Linked DNA regions of Homo sapiens: region 2 is linked to region 1. The links are contacts of gene promoters, found by promoter capture Hi-C in blood cells and fetal thymus (Javierre and others, 2016). All regions are on one chromosome and are shown on one strand. Each heading gives the region's core, a stretch centred on a gene start or on the middle of the fragment in contact. The rest is flanking DNA. Distances are from core to core; before and after follow the strand shown. Region 1 holds the start of PPIG (peptidylprolyl isomerase G). Region 2 overlaps PHOSPHO2-KLHL23 (PHOSPHO2-KLHL23 readthrough).

Evidence for each region. The method cuts DNA at HindIII sites, captures the fragments that hold promoters and counts their contacts. A CHiCAGO score of 5 or more calls a contact.
Region 2: a contact is called between a fragment that was not itself captured here and the fragment with the promoter of PPIG in region 1, in 2 of 17 cell types (megakaryocytes and total B cells). The highest score is 6.4, in megakaryocytes.

The regions. Positions count from the first base shown.
Region 1 is chr2:169,581,912-169,589,051 of GRCh38, forward strand. It overlaps PPIG (peptidylprolyl isomerase G), which reads left to right and starts at 2,440. Exons shown (of 14, transcript NM_004792.3): 1 at 2,440-2,579. RefSeq lists an enhancer at 2,356-2,405. The HindIII fragment of the contact is 789 bases long and covers 2,165-2,953 here.
Region 2 is chr2:169,734,990-169,742,129 of GRCh38, forward strand. PHOSPHO2-KLHL23 (PHOSPHO2-KLHL23 readthrough) reads left to right here. Exons shown (of 5, transcript NR_144936.2): 4 at 6,396-6,548. It overlaps KLHL23 (kelch like family member 23), which reads left to right. Exons shown (of 4, transcript NM_144711.6): 2 at 24-1,238; 3 at 6,396-6,548. The coding sequence starts at 26. Among named protein-coding and RNA genes, the nearest start is that of KLHL23, 4.7 kb to the left of the region's middle. The HindIII fragment of the contact is 208 bases long and covers 2,938-3,145 here.

The sequences.
Region 1 (7,140 bases), core at 1,190-3,689:
ATTCGGGCTGGCAGAAACTCAGATCCTTATGATGTGAGGTCATCACTGGGTGAGGTGGTACATACCTGTAGTCCCAGCTACTCTGGAGACTAAGGTGGGAGAATCGCTTGACTCCAGGAGTTCAAGTCCATCCTGAGCAACATAATGAGACCCTGTCTCTAGAAAAAAAGAAAAAAAATGAAGCTATGTAGAATTAGACAAGTGAAAAGTTCCGTGATAATCAGTCTATTCTTTCTTCTCTGTGTCAGTTATCCCTTGCTGTGTGACAAAATCATCCCAAAACTTAGTGGCTTAAACAACACTTATTTATATATATATACACATATATACACACACACGTACATATATGTGTGTGTATATATATGTATATATACACATATATAGTATATGTATACATACACACACTAGGATAATAAATATATATATAAATATATATAAGGAAACTATAGGATAACAAATGTTGTTTATTATATACACTATACATACAGTATCCTTCCATTTATTTATTTTTATTTAAGTTGTGGGGTACATATGCAGGTTTGTTACAGAGGTAAACTTGTGTAATGGGGGTTTGTTGTACAGAATATTTCATCACCTAGGTATTAAGTCTAGGACCCATTAGTTATTTTTCCTGATCCTCTCCCTCCTCCCACTGTCTACACTCTGATAGGCCCCAGTGTGTATTGTGCCCCTCTATGTCTTCATGTGTTCTCATCATTTAGCTCCCACTTATAAGTGAGAACATGTGGTACTTGGTTTTCTGTTTCTGCATTAGTTTGCTAAGGATAATGGTCTCCAGCTCCATCCATGTTCCTGCGAAGGGCATGAGATCATTCTTTTTCATGGCTGCATAGTATTCCATGGAGTATATGTACCACATTTTCTTTATCAAGTCTACCATTGATGGACATTTAGGTTGACTCCATGTCTTCGCTATTGTGAATAGTGTGGCAATGAACATACATATGTGTATGTCTTTATAACAGAACAACTTATATTCCTTTGGGTATATACCCAGTAATGTGATTGCTGGGTCAAATGGTATTTCTGCCTCTAGGTCTTTGAGGAATCGCCACGCTGTCTTCCACAATAGTTGAATTCATTTAAACTCCCACCAGCACTGTAAAATGTTCCTTTTTCTCCACAACCTCACCAGCACCTGTTATTTTTTGACTTTTTAATAATAGCCATTCTGACTGGTATGAGATAGTATCTCACTGCGGTTTTGATTTGCATTTTTCTGATGATTGGTGGTGTTGAGCTTTTTCATTATGATTGTTGGCTGCAAGTATGTCTTCTTTCGAAAAGCGTTGGCCGGGCGTGGTGGCTCACACCTGTAATCCCGGCACTTTGGGAGGCCAAGGAGGACGGATCACCTGAGGTTGGGAGTTTGAGACCAGCCTGACCTACATGGAGAAACCCTGTCTCTACTAAAAATACAAAAAATTAGCCAGGCCAGTCTGTGGCCCAGGGGTTGGGGACCCCTGTTTTAAGGTATTGCAGAATTGTCCCCTCCACACACAGCGAAGTGTAAATCCGTTTAATCTCTGAACTATCTAAAGATGAATATGCTGCTGCTCTCCTGCAATAAAGGGCAATGACTTAAAAGAGGTGGGGGTGGAGAGGCAGAAATGTCCTCTGTTTTACTGCTGTGTAAAACTGGTCACGCCCCTTAGAAGCACCACCACATGCCTAACTGTTGTTGATAATTAATTTACCTGATGCAAGTGAGTGAAAAATTTAAATGATCATAATTTACGTTGCCTTTAAACGACAGAACAATTTAAGTCCTCTAGTTAGCTAGTTCCTTTAAAACACACCCCACATCCCTACCAGAATCACTGCCCATCCCCCCCCACCCCCCCGCCCAAACAGCAATGGTTATTTATTTCTAACATAATCCGGGGACCCTTGCCCCTTAAAATAATTAAATAATATATGCCATATTTTCTCTAGAAGGCACTAGATTTGGCATCAAAAGACTTGCTTTGGCATTCAAGAACAGTGTGTTTGAGGAGGAGGCGTTTATCTTCCCTGAGCCTCAATTTCTTTATCTGTAAAACAACAAAGAACATCAAAGCTCTTTGTAATTTCTTCCTCTTTCCTCAAATAACACTTTGCTCATTACTGCGTTTTTAGAACTTATATCCTAGCGTTAAGTGGAAGCTTAACTGGAAGCTCCATGAAGGTAGGCCTTCCTTTCTGATAACCTAGCGTAAGATCAATAAATGTTTATTAAATGAGGCACTTTACTTCACAAAGGATATGGCATTTTAACGGTTACAAGCGTTCCCAGTCAACGCATCCACAAAGCATTAGGCCACCTATAAACTAGGAATTTAAAAGGCACCAAAATCCTAGAAGTCCTAGGAGGGCGTGGTGACGCAAGCAGGTGAACGCTGGCCGATGCTGACAACCCACTCCTGACGCGCTTCCGGTGCGACGCTGTCTCTCCATGCCAGGACTGAGTTGTGGGGGAGGGAGGCGGTTAGCGGGCTTTAGCGCCTTTTCTGGCGGCGGTAGATTTGAAGCGCTTCAAAGGACCGGACCCAGAGAAGAGGAAAACTCTACCGGTGCAGGTAAGTGGTATGAGGCTCAAGTTGTTCTGGCGGCGTCATTTCAGCAGTCCCTGCGTACGAAAGCGGGAAGGGCCTGGGAAGAGGGGCGGAGCCGGCGCGGCTGACCGGGTTGGGTTTACCGTCTTTCCCTCGAGGTATCGGGGCTGCTTGGGCCCAGAGGAAGTCCCTGAGGACCGCAGCAGTGCCTTTGCCGCTGTTGCAGAAGGAGAAGGCTTGCAGTCGAGCCCCGGGGCCTGGGGACGGTCCTTCCTCTGCCAGCCCCCGCCCTCCCCACTCAGGCGCACACCTCCCTCACTGACGCATTTTGCCGCACAAGCTGTAACATGGCGGCAGCGACTGCGGCCTGAACTCTAGGGAGCCGGGTTGATTTTTAAAGCTTCAAAATCCTAAGACTCAGCACTGTTGCGGGGTAGGTGGCGGGACTGGTGGGGAAGGGGGAGACAGCCTGACGTCCTGTCAGGCTAGGGTTGGAGAGTGACGGGCGAAGAGCCTGAATCACAGGGATTAAAATTGAAGACTAGCTTTCCTCCTCTTTCGACCTTTTCCTCTCACAGCACAGTGGCTGTCGTGCAGTTAAGTGGCAGAGGCCACTTTGTTAAGCATTTTTCTAAAACTCAAGTCCAGGGTCTTGAGCTCTCGCGAAGTTCCCCCGTGTTTCGGAGGAGCTGTGAGCTGCGCAGGCCTTTTAGGAGGAGATAATTACTCTTTAGGAGGAAGATGATGATTTCGGGGCTCAGTATGCCTGAAGGGGAAGTATGCTAATTTGGTTCTTGGTTAGTCTTTTTTTTTGAGACGGAGTCTCGCTCTGTCGCCTAGGCTGGAATGCAGTGGCGCGATCTTGGCTCACTGCAACCTCCGCCTCCTGGGTTCAAGTGATTCTTCTGCCTCAGCCTCCCAAGTAGCTGGGACTACAGGCACGTGCCACCATGCCCGGCTAATTTTTTGTGTTTTTAGTAGAGACGGGTTTTCACCGTGTTAGCCAGGATGGTCGATCTCCTGACCTCGTGATCCGCCCACCTCGGCCTCCCAAAGTGCTGGGATTACAGGCGAGAGCCACCGCGCACGGCCAGCTCATGTTTAGTCTTAAGGAGCAAAGTCTAGATGTGCTGGCAAGGAGTATGCACAATCGTTTTGGAAATGCTATAAAAGCACCATTTTGTGCATTGATTTTAATTTCTTTCCACGATAGCCCTTTCTGTGTGTAACCAACATTTTGCAGTAGTGAACACAAATACAAAAGTATTTGCTTTTATAGTTTGGTACTAACATAGTTGTCCAAAGAACAATTAGATGTTTTAGAAATTAGGGGGGCCTGATATTAACTTTCAGTAGTTAAAACCAGGAAAAAAGAGTGAGTGTGTGTGTGTGTCGGTCACACACACGTTTTTGTCTTTGTGTATTCCCATTTGGTAACAGGATGGCCGGTAATTGCTACTTTGTAACAATGACGGGTGGGGGGGTGAACATTTTATAAATTTTGAAATCGTGCTATAAAATCCAGAAAAGATACATTTAGAATGGCTGCTTCTCTCCTGTTTTTAATATATCCTGAAAATTTACCCGTTTTAGCACTCCCCTTTTTTTTATGTTAACGAGTTGGGACAGAATTATTTCTGTAACAAATTACATGGTTCTGTGTCTTAAACAAGAGTTCATTGTACATTGTTTGACTATTTCTTTATGATTCAGAATTATTGATGCTCTGAGATCCTATAGGGTCTTGTAGTAGGATTCTGCGCATTTGAATTGTTGGTTTCCTTTTTAAGGCTTTTCTAGGCAGTCAGTTGTCAGGAGTGCTCCTGCTGTCAGGAGTGTATAAGTATGTAAACTTCTTAGGTTAGAAAAATTTGGACTTTCTGGCCCAATTATCTTTCTGAGCTTCAGTTTCTTCACCTACCTGCAAAATGACATTTTGATCTCCACCTTCCATCAACTGTGGGCTTGAAAATTAAATACTCAGCTTTGTTAAAATTGTGTGTGAAGTTGGCTTTCATTAACTCAGTGGTTCCTTTATGGGTGAAGAGTGTTCATTACATTTATTTTTAACCATATAGTCGATTTACTGTGGTGCTTATTATTGTGGTCTTGCAGTATTGGTGACTTCTACATATTTTTGATATTTTGCCTTAAATTAGATTTTCTGTGAGGCAGCATCCTCTTCTTTATACAAAGGGAAAGTGGAAGCCATTCATAATAAAGTACTTCTGTTAGGACACTATCTGGGGTTAATTCTTTAAATAGTAGTTGCCCCTTTAGTTAGGCTTTTTTCCTTCCTATTAGTTTATAAATAGAGTATTTAAACATAATTATAACATGTTGTCTATTTTTAGAATCCCAGTGTACTAAGATGTCATGAAGGAATACATAGATAATTAATGCAAGTGACCTGAAGAGTTTGTTGCAAGTCTTTCTGTTGCATTGTGGCATTGCATGCTTTTTGCTTTTATTTATTTATTTTTTTCAGACAGAGTCTTGCTCTGTCGCCCAGGCTGGAGTGCAGTGGCATGATCTCAGCTCACTGCAACCTCCACCTCCTGAGCTCAAGGGATTCTCACGCCTCAGCCTCCCTAGTAGCTGGGAGTACAGGTGCCTGCCACCACACCGGGTAATTTTTATATTTTTAGTAGAGAAGGGGTTTCACCATGTTGGCTACGCTGGTCTCAAATTCCTGACCTCAAGTAATCCATCCGCCTCCGCCTCCCAAAGTGCTGGGATTACAGGCGTGAGCCACTGTGCACTGTGCCCAGCCTGACTTTTGCTTTTTTTTTTGAGACAGAGTCTCGCTGTCTTGCCCATACTGGAGTGCAGTGGCGTGATCTCGGCTCACTGCAACCTCCGCCTCCCGGGTTCAAGCAATTCTTCTGCCTCAGCTTCCTGAGTAGCTGGGATTACAGGCATGTGCCACCACACCCAGCTGATTTTTGTATTTTTTATAGAGATGGGGTTTCACCATGTTGGTTAGGCTGGTCCCAAACTCCTGACCTCATGATCTGCCCACCTTGGCCTCCCAAAGTGCTAGTATTACAGGCGTGAGCCACCGTGCCCAGACCTTTTTGCTTTTAATGTTAGGACTAAACTTCAATTTTCATGTTGCTTAAGTGTCGGTGATTTTCCCTGGTTTAATGCATAAATGGTCACCATAAGAACTCGGTATTTTTATTTCTGTAGGGAAAAACTTGCATCCTGAAATTTACTACAGACAGTATTCAGAGAAAACTGCTGTTATTGGGAGTTTGTACTTCTAGCAGCAGACAAGAAAACTTTTGAACTTTGTTTTAGAATAATGGCTTAAAATGATCACACGCTTACTGAAATTTGATTATATAACACTTATAAACACCAATCTTTTATATTAAAATGATTATTTTAAAAACATGAATGATGGCCGGGGGTGGTGGCTCACACCTGAAATCCCAGCACTTTGGGAGGCCGAGGCGGGTGGATCACCTGAGGTCGGGAGTTCCAGACCAGCCTGACCAACATGGAGAAACCCCGTCTCTCCGTTTCTACTTAGAATACAAAAATTAGCTGGGCATTGGTGGTGCATGCCTGTAATCCCAACTACTCGGGAGGCTGAGGCAGGAGAATCGCTTGAACCCGGGAGGTGGAGGTTGCAGTGATCCGAGATCACGCCATTGCACTCCAGCCTGGGAAACGAGCGAAACTCCATCTCAAAAAATTAAAAATAAAAATAAAAATATGAATGATTCCTTAACTCGTTTTAAAAATGAACGAAGCATATTCGTGTGTGTGTGTGTATATACTAAGCTCTTGTTAATTATTGTATACATTTTAGCTTATAATTAAACCATTGAATCATGGTTATATGGTGAAAAGTAATATTAAGCCATTATGTGGAATATTTGTGAGTAAACTAGTTTTTACCGTGAAATTGTAGAAAGTACTAAATCAGAACTTTTGCTTTTTTCCATTTGTGAGCTTGAGCCACTCATTTCATCTCTTTTGTCCTCTTGTTCTTGATCTATAAAATCAGAAGATTGGATCAGGTTATCTCTTAGAGTTCCTTGAAACTCCAAATGTTCTTATTTTTTTACGTAGGAATTACTGGATTGAATAATGGGGTTAGAACTGTGTGTATATATGTATATATCTTTGAAAACTGGGGGTAAATCTTTTTTCTTTTTTGTTTTTGGTTTTGGTAAATTTATTATTATAAGAACTTAGATCAGGCGGAGTGCAGTGGCTCACGCCTGTAATCCCGACACTTTGGGAGGCCGAGGTGGGTGGATCACCTGAGGTCGGAGCTTGAGACCAGCCTGAGGAACATGAAGAAACCCTGTCTCTACTAAAAATACAAATTTAGCCGGGCATGGTGGCGCATGCCTGTAATCCCAGCTACTCGGAGGCTGAGGCAGGAGAATCGCTTGAACCCAGGAGGCGGAGGTTGCAGTGAGCCAAGATCGCACCATTGCACTTCAGCCTGGGCACAAGAACGAAACTCCCTCTCAAAAAAAAAAAAAAAAAAAAAAAAACCTTAGATAATTGCAAGTACAACATTAAGAGTATTAGCCGTGAGTTCCCAGTTAGTATTTGCTTTTGT
Region 2 (7,140 bases), core at 1,792-4,291, 150 kb after region 1:
TTGTTATTTCATATTTATTGCAGCCATGGCTCTAAAAGGACAAGAAGATTATATTTATCTTTTCAAGGATTCAACACATCCAGTGGATTTTCTGGATGCATTCAGAACATTTTACTTGGATGGATTATTTACTGATATTACTCTTCAGTGTCCTTCAGGCATAATTTTCCATTGTCACCGAGCCGTTTTAGCTGCTTGCAGCAATTATTTTAAGGCAATGTTCACAGCTGACATGAAAGAAAAATTTAAAAATAAAATAAAACTCTCTGGCATCCACCATGATATTCTGGAAGGCCTTGTAAATTATGCATACACTTCCCAAATTGAAATAACTAAAAGAAATGTTCAAAGCCTGCTTGAGGCAGCGGATCTGCTACAGTTCCTTTCAGTAAAGAAGGCTTGTGAGCGGTTTTTGGTAAGGCACTTGGATATTGATAATTGTATTGGAATGCACTCCTTTGCAGAATTTCATGTGTGTCCAGAACTAGAGAAGGAATCTCGAAGAATTCTATGTTCAAAGTTTAAGGAAGTGTGGCAACAAGAAGAATTTCTGGAAATCAGCCTTGAAAAGTTTCTCTTTATCTTGTCCAGAAAGAATCTCAGTGTTTGGAAAGAAGAAGCTATCATAGAGCCAGTTATTAAGTGGACTGCTCATGATGTAGAAAATCGAATTGAATGCCTCTATAATCTACTGAGCTATATCAACATTGATATAGATCCAGTGTACTTAAAAACAGCCTTAGGCCTTCAAAGAAGCTGCCTGCTCACCGAAAATAAGATCCGCTCCCTAATATACAATGCCTTGAATCCCATGCATAAAGAGATTTCCCAGAGGTCCACAGCCACAATGTATATAATTGGAGGCTATTACTGGCATCCTTTATCAGAGGTTCACATATGGGATCCTTTGACAAATGTTTGGATTCAGGGAGCAGAAATACCAGATTATACCAGGGAGAGCTATGGTGTTACATGTTTAGGACCCAACATTTATGTAACTGGGGGCTACAGGACGGATAACATAGAAGCTCTTGACACAGTGTGGATCTATAACAGTGAAAGTGATGAATGGACAGAAGGTTTGCCAATGCTCAATGCCAGGTATTACCACTGTGCAGTCACCTTGGGTGGCTGTGTCTATGCTTTAGGTGGTTACAGAAAAGGGGCTCCAGCAGAAGAGGCTGAGTTCTATGATCCTTTAAAAGAGAAATGGATTCCTATTGCAAACATGATTAAAGGTAAGTGGAGATTATGTTTATTTTGTATTTTTTAGATGTCTGGAGCTAGGCCAGCAGTCTCACTTCTCTTGAATTTATCACTTTGGGATGCTATCTAGGAACTATAGTTAATTATACAAATAATGCTACACAGAATGTTCCAGATAAAAACAGTATAGCATAGTTCCCAACTTGTCTGAGAGTTATGAGAATTTATATTCAAGTCAAGGGCTAGATGAAGAGACAAATCTGGACAGTTTTTCATTTTTTCATGTTCTTAAAATTGAACCCTTTAAAATTCTGCTATTCAACTTTTTCCTCTCAAAATACGCTGATCAGCTCTCAAGAGGTCCTTCATTAAAACCTTGGAAGGTTTGGTCCCTACAGGATGTAACAAAGTACATTCTTCCAGGAACTAGAGACAACGTCTGCTTTTGCAATTCAGTCCTCTCTGAGAGGGGCAGACACCATACTCTCCCTCATGTGGCCCACAGAACCCGGCACACCCCTGGGTCTCGGTATCTGTCTGATAAACACTATTTTCTGCTGTGTTTGGCGATTTGTTTGCCTTGCTCTCCTTCTCTCCCACTGGAAAAAAAGTTAAACGGGAATCTTATTTCATTGTATTTATTCATTGGTGCTGAGGAGTTGTACAAAAACAACTGGTAGGTCGTTACCAAATTTGTATCATTTTGTCCCAAATGTTTCTTCCCAGGCTTTTCTGTTTCTTTTTTAATGCTAGTGAGAGTGTGGGAATTTGACCTGGTCTGGAAATCTGACCTGGTATGATCCTTGGATGACAGGCAGGAAGCTGAGAGGCAGAACAGTCTTGGGATCAGGCACGCTGCCTCTGAAGCTAAACTGCCTGCATCCAGATCCCTGCTTTCCTCTTACTTGCTGATGAGCTCTGGCAAATTGTTTAATCACCCTGTGCCCCCGTTTTGTCATCTGTATAATGGGGATGACAATATTACCTAGTCTCGGATCATTGAGAGGATTAAATTAATCTATGCTTGTGAAGTGCCTAGAACAGTGTCTGACACAGAGTAAGCATGCTATAAATGTTACGCATGATTGTCCTGAATGTCGGTATTGAAGGACATGTCAGCTCTTATAGAGCAGAAATTGATTTCATGTGAAGTTGTGACCACTGTCACACCAGGGTGGGAGAAGGTAGCAGAAAGCCCGGTGCTGTTGCTCCCCTGGTTTTTGTCTTTGCCTGAGTCTCACCACTACTTGCCGATTCCAGGAGGGCTCTGAATGTCCTGACCCCTCTTCTGCAAAAGAAATAAGAAAAGTCCATATATTTAAGGAGCTATTGTAAACTAGCATACATTTCTGATTCTGTTTTTTAAGGATGATATAACAGTTTCAATGGTTTTGTGGTTCAGAGTATATTTCTTTTTCTTTTTCTTTTTTTTTTTTTGAGATGGAGTCTCACTCTGTCTCCCAGGCTGGAATGCAGTGGCGTGATCTTGGCTCACTGCAACCTCTGCCTCCCGGGTTCAAGCAGTTCTCCTGCCTCAGCCTCCTGAGTAGCTGGGATTACAGGCATGTGCCACCACACCTAGGTAATTTTTGTATTTTTAGTAGAGACGGGGTTTCACCATGTTGGCCAGGCTGGTCTTGAACTCCTGACCTCAAGTGATCCCCCCACCTTGGCCTCCCAAAGTGCTGGGATTACAAGGGTGGGTTCAGAGTATATTTCTTTGAGAATGAAAGCTTATTACTTTACTGAAATTTTAAAAATTTATATTTAGAACAGTGCTTGTTGAAAAAAGATATGCTGCGATGGTGTATCTACTGTGAAACAAAAGCCATATGCATGCTTGCGTTAACCTTGAGTGGAGTAGGAGACCCTCATACCTCAAAGTCCTCCCTCACCTGCTAACTGGGTCTGAAATTCCAGTTTTATACTTTGAACTCAAAGCTTTGATTCTTGTTTATATCTAGTCATCCCAGGGAGAGGTAACACTGCCAGTTATGTGCAGTTTTGACTACTGCTTGTTTTGGTGGGTGGACTCATACAGAACTTTTTTTAAACAATTTTTAAAATTTTATTTTTAATTTTTAAAACTAGAAATGGCGGGGGGTCTCACTATGTTGCCCAGGCTGGTCTTGAACCCCTGGCCTCAAATGATTCTCCTACCTTGGCCTCCCAAAGTGCGGGGATTATAGGTGTGAACCACCACACCCAGCCATACTGAACTTTTAGATTCCCATTTTTTGGTAGAAAGGATAACATTTTTTTCAATTCGTTTTATTTTGTAGCCTTGAAGTGAAATAGCAGCTTTCTCTGGTAATAAACTTAATTTGGGTACAGTCAAATTTAAAATTTATTACCTTTTTTTGGTCCTGGACCCAAATTAAGTTCACTAATGTACAGAGAATAAATAAATACTTGGCTGTTTAGGAACTCCTGAATCTTTATTTTTTTCCATCATAACTGCTCTACTTATAAATCCACTTTTATTTTGGAATAGAAAGGAACAAGAAGATTGAACTGTATCATGCAAAATGGTGCTAGGTAAAAGTTAGTGGAAAGACAAAACCAACGTTTTCAACTAAAATGATCCTCATCATCTTTCTTCCTTTCTTCATCTTCCCTCCAAACCTATTTCCTCCCCCTCCTCCCCCTCCCCTTCCTCACCCTCCCCTCTCTTCCCCCTTCCCCTCCCTCTCCTCCCTATCTCCCTTTCATGTTTCGCCTATCTTCCTCTTTCTTCCTCCTCCTTCCCTCTCCTCCCCCTCCTCCCTCTCCTCCCCCTTCCCCTCCCCCTCCCCCTCCTCCCCTTCCCCTCCCCCATCTCCTCTCCCTCCTTCTGCCTTCTTCTTCCTCCTCCTCCTTCCCCTCCCTCTCCTTCCCCTCCTCGACTTCCCCCACCCCTCCTTGTTTTGGCATCAGTGATTCCAGTTTTTCCAGCTCAGGACCTCAAAATCGGTTTGGTTTGCCTCTGCGTCAGTCAGTCATCAAGACCTGTGTGTTTTACCTGTCTCTTTCCTCTATGCTCTTCCCTCCATACCCAAAGCCCCTTCAAAATCAGGCCCTCGAGACCGCCCACCCTGGCCAGTAACTAGATCTTTCTGGTACCTGTTCTTCCTTTGTTAGTTGCTCTATTCCTCTGTTTAAAAACCTTTAAAATCTGGCTGAATTAAATCCAGATTCTTTGTTGGGCATCAGTAAGTATCCTTTGCTACATGGCTTCAACTTACCATGCCAGCCTTAAAGTCCCATGCAACAACCCTCAATGTGCCACCTGCCCTGGTCAAACTGGGCTACTTAACATTGTCCAGTAAGCCTTTGCACTGGCTTTTCCCTCTGTCTAGAATGGCCTCCTCTCATCTATACTTGCCAACTTCCTACCATCACCCAGGTCAAATTCCACCACCACCTGCTGTGATTTCCCTCGTCAAATGCAGTGTTTTCTTGCCCTGACCATGCCCAGCAGTTCATCTGTCCCTTTTTTCATGGTGTTTCTTCCATTTTATATCTAGTGTTCTAATTACAGCCATGTGCCACTTAACAATGGGGATATGTTCTGAGAAATGTGTGATTAGGCAATTTTGTCATGTGAACGTTATACTTAAACAACAGGCTATACCATACTAATTCTACAGCCTAATACACACCTAGGCTGTGTGGTATAGCCTGTTACTCCTAGGCTTCAGACCTGTACAGCATGTTACTATACTGAATATTCTAAGCAGTATAACACAATGGTAAGTCTTTGTGTATCTAAACATAGAAACAGTACAGTAAAAATACAGCATAAAAGATAAAAATGGTAGACCTATTTGGGGCACTTACCATGAATGGAGCTTGCAGGACTGGAAGTTGTTCTGGTTGAGTCGGTGAGTAAGTGGGGAGGGATTGTGAAGGCCTAGGACATTACTGTACACTACTGTAGACTTTTTACTTTTTTTGAGACAGGGTCTTGCTCTGACACGTACGCTGGACTGCGGTGATGTAAACATAGCTCACTGCAGCCTTGACCTCCTGAGATCAAGCAATCCTCCCACCTCAGCCTCCCGAGTAGCTGGGACTACAGGCACATGCTATCACACGTGGCTACTTTTTTATTTTTTGTAGAGATGTGGTCTCACTTTGTAGTCCAAGCTGGTCTCAAACTCCTCCTGGGCTCAAGTGATCCCCTGCCTCAGCCTCCTAAACTTCTGGAATTACAGGCATTACTGTAGACTTTATATAGCTTATAAAAATACTTTCTTTTTATCCTTATTCTATAAGCTTTTTTTTTTTTTGAGACGGAGTCTCGCTCTGTCACCCAGGCTGGAGTGCAGTGGCACTGTCTTGGCTCACTGCAAGCTCAGTCTCCTGGGTTCACGCCATTCTCCTGCCTCAGCCTCCCGAGTAGCTAGGACTACAGGCGCCCACCACCACGTCCTGCTAATTTTTTGTATTTTTAGTAGAGACGGGGTTTCACCGTGTTAGCCAGGATGGTCTCAATCTCCTGACCTCGTGATCCACCCACCTTGACCTCCCAAAGTGCTGGGATTACAGGCGTGAGCCACTGCGCCCGGCCTCTATAAGCTTTTTTATATTATATATATATATATATATATATATAACTTATTTATTGATTTTTTTACTCGTTAAACTTTTTTGTTAAAAAAGTAAGACACAGACATACACATTAGCTGAGGCCTATACAGGGTCAGGATCATCAATGTCAGAGTCATCAATATCACTGTCTTCCACCTCCACATCTTGTCCCACTTGCAGGCTTTCAAGGGCAATAACAGGCATAGAGCTATCCTCTCCTATGATAATAATGCCTTCTTCTGGAATACCTCTTGAAGGACCTGCCAGAGGCGTAGATTTATTTACAACAGCATCACCAGAAACACATGAGAATGCTTTATGCCATGTCTTTAAAACAGCTACCACAGTATCACTAGGTGATAGGACATTTTCCACTCCATTATAATTTTATGGAGATCATTGTGCGTGGTGCATGGCTGTGTTTGTGTGCACGTCTCACCCTCTCTTAAGAGCACAAAGAGCCTTCCTTTTTTATTCTTTTGTCCCTTATAGCACTTAGCACAGTACCTTGCATTTTACCATCAGTAATAACAAAAACAACAATAAATTTAGCCCAGGGTTCACTGCAAAAAAGAACAAAAGATCAATCTAAAGATGTGATTTTAATTAATACGTAGGTGTGGGAAATGCTACTGCCTGTGTCTTACATGATGTTATCTACGTCATTGGTGGCCACTGTGGCTACAGAGGAAGCTGCACCTATGACAAAGTTCAGAGCTACAATTCCGATATCAACGAATGGAGCCTCATCACCTCCAGTCCACATCCAGGTAACAAAAATACTGTCTCAAATAGTGTATGTTGTGATGTAGTTTAGTAGCATAAAGGATGGCTAAAAATGGACTGGAAATAGAAAATGCTGATTTTATTGTAGACTACACATGGGTAGAATTAAAAGTCTCAAAATATTCATATATGTCCATCTAACAATAATCACAATGAGATTCTGATTGGGTCACATCTACAAATATTTTCCCTGATGTCTTTATACAATGCACATTGTAAGTCTGTGTGGTCAAAAATATTAGCGTCTTTAAAATTTTTTTCCTTTATATGCCATCTTTCATTTATGACATTAATTATATAAAATACAATGTTCATAAGTAGTTGAAAAGCACCATTCTATCAAATAGTCAGAAAGGGTACCCAGTGATTGAAGTTCAGCTAGAAATTGTTTCCTGTTTTAGAAGCATGTTCTTTCTAGGTTTCACTTACTATTAAGCACTCACTCCTACAATGTGCAGAGCCATATGTTGGCCTTACCTTAACACTCATACAGGGAACATGCTGTCTGCCCATAAGGAATGGCCTACCTTCTTGGATGTCTTCTGTTCTTTGACTTGTGTCTTTGTGAAGAGCTCA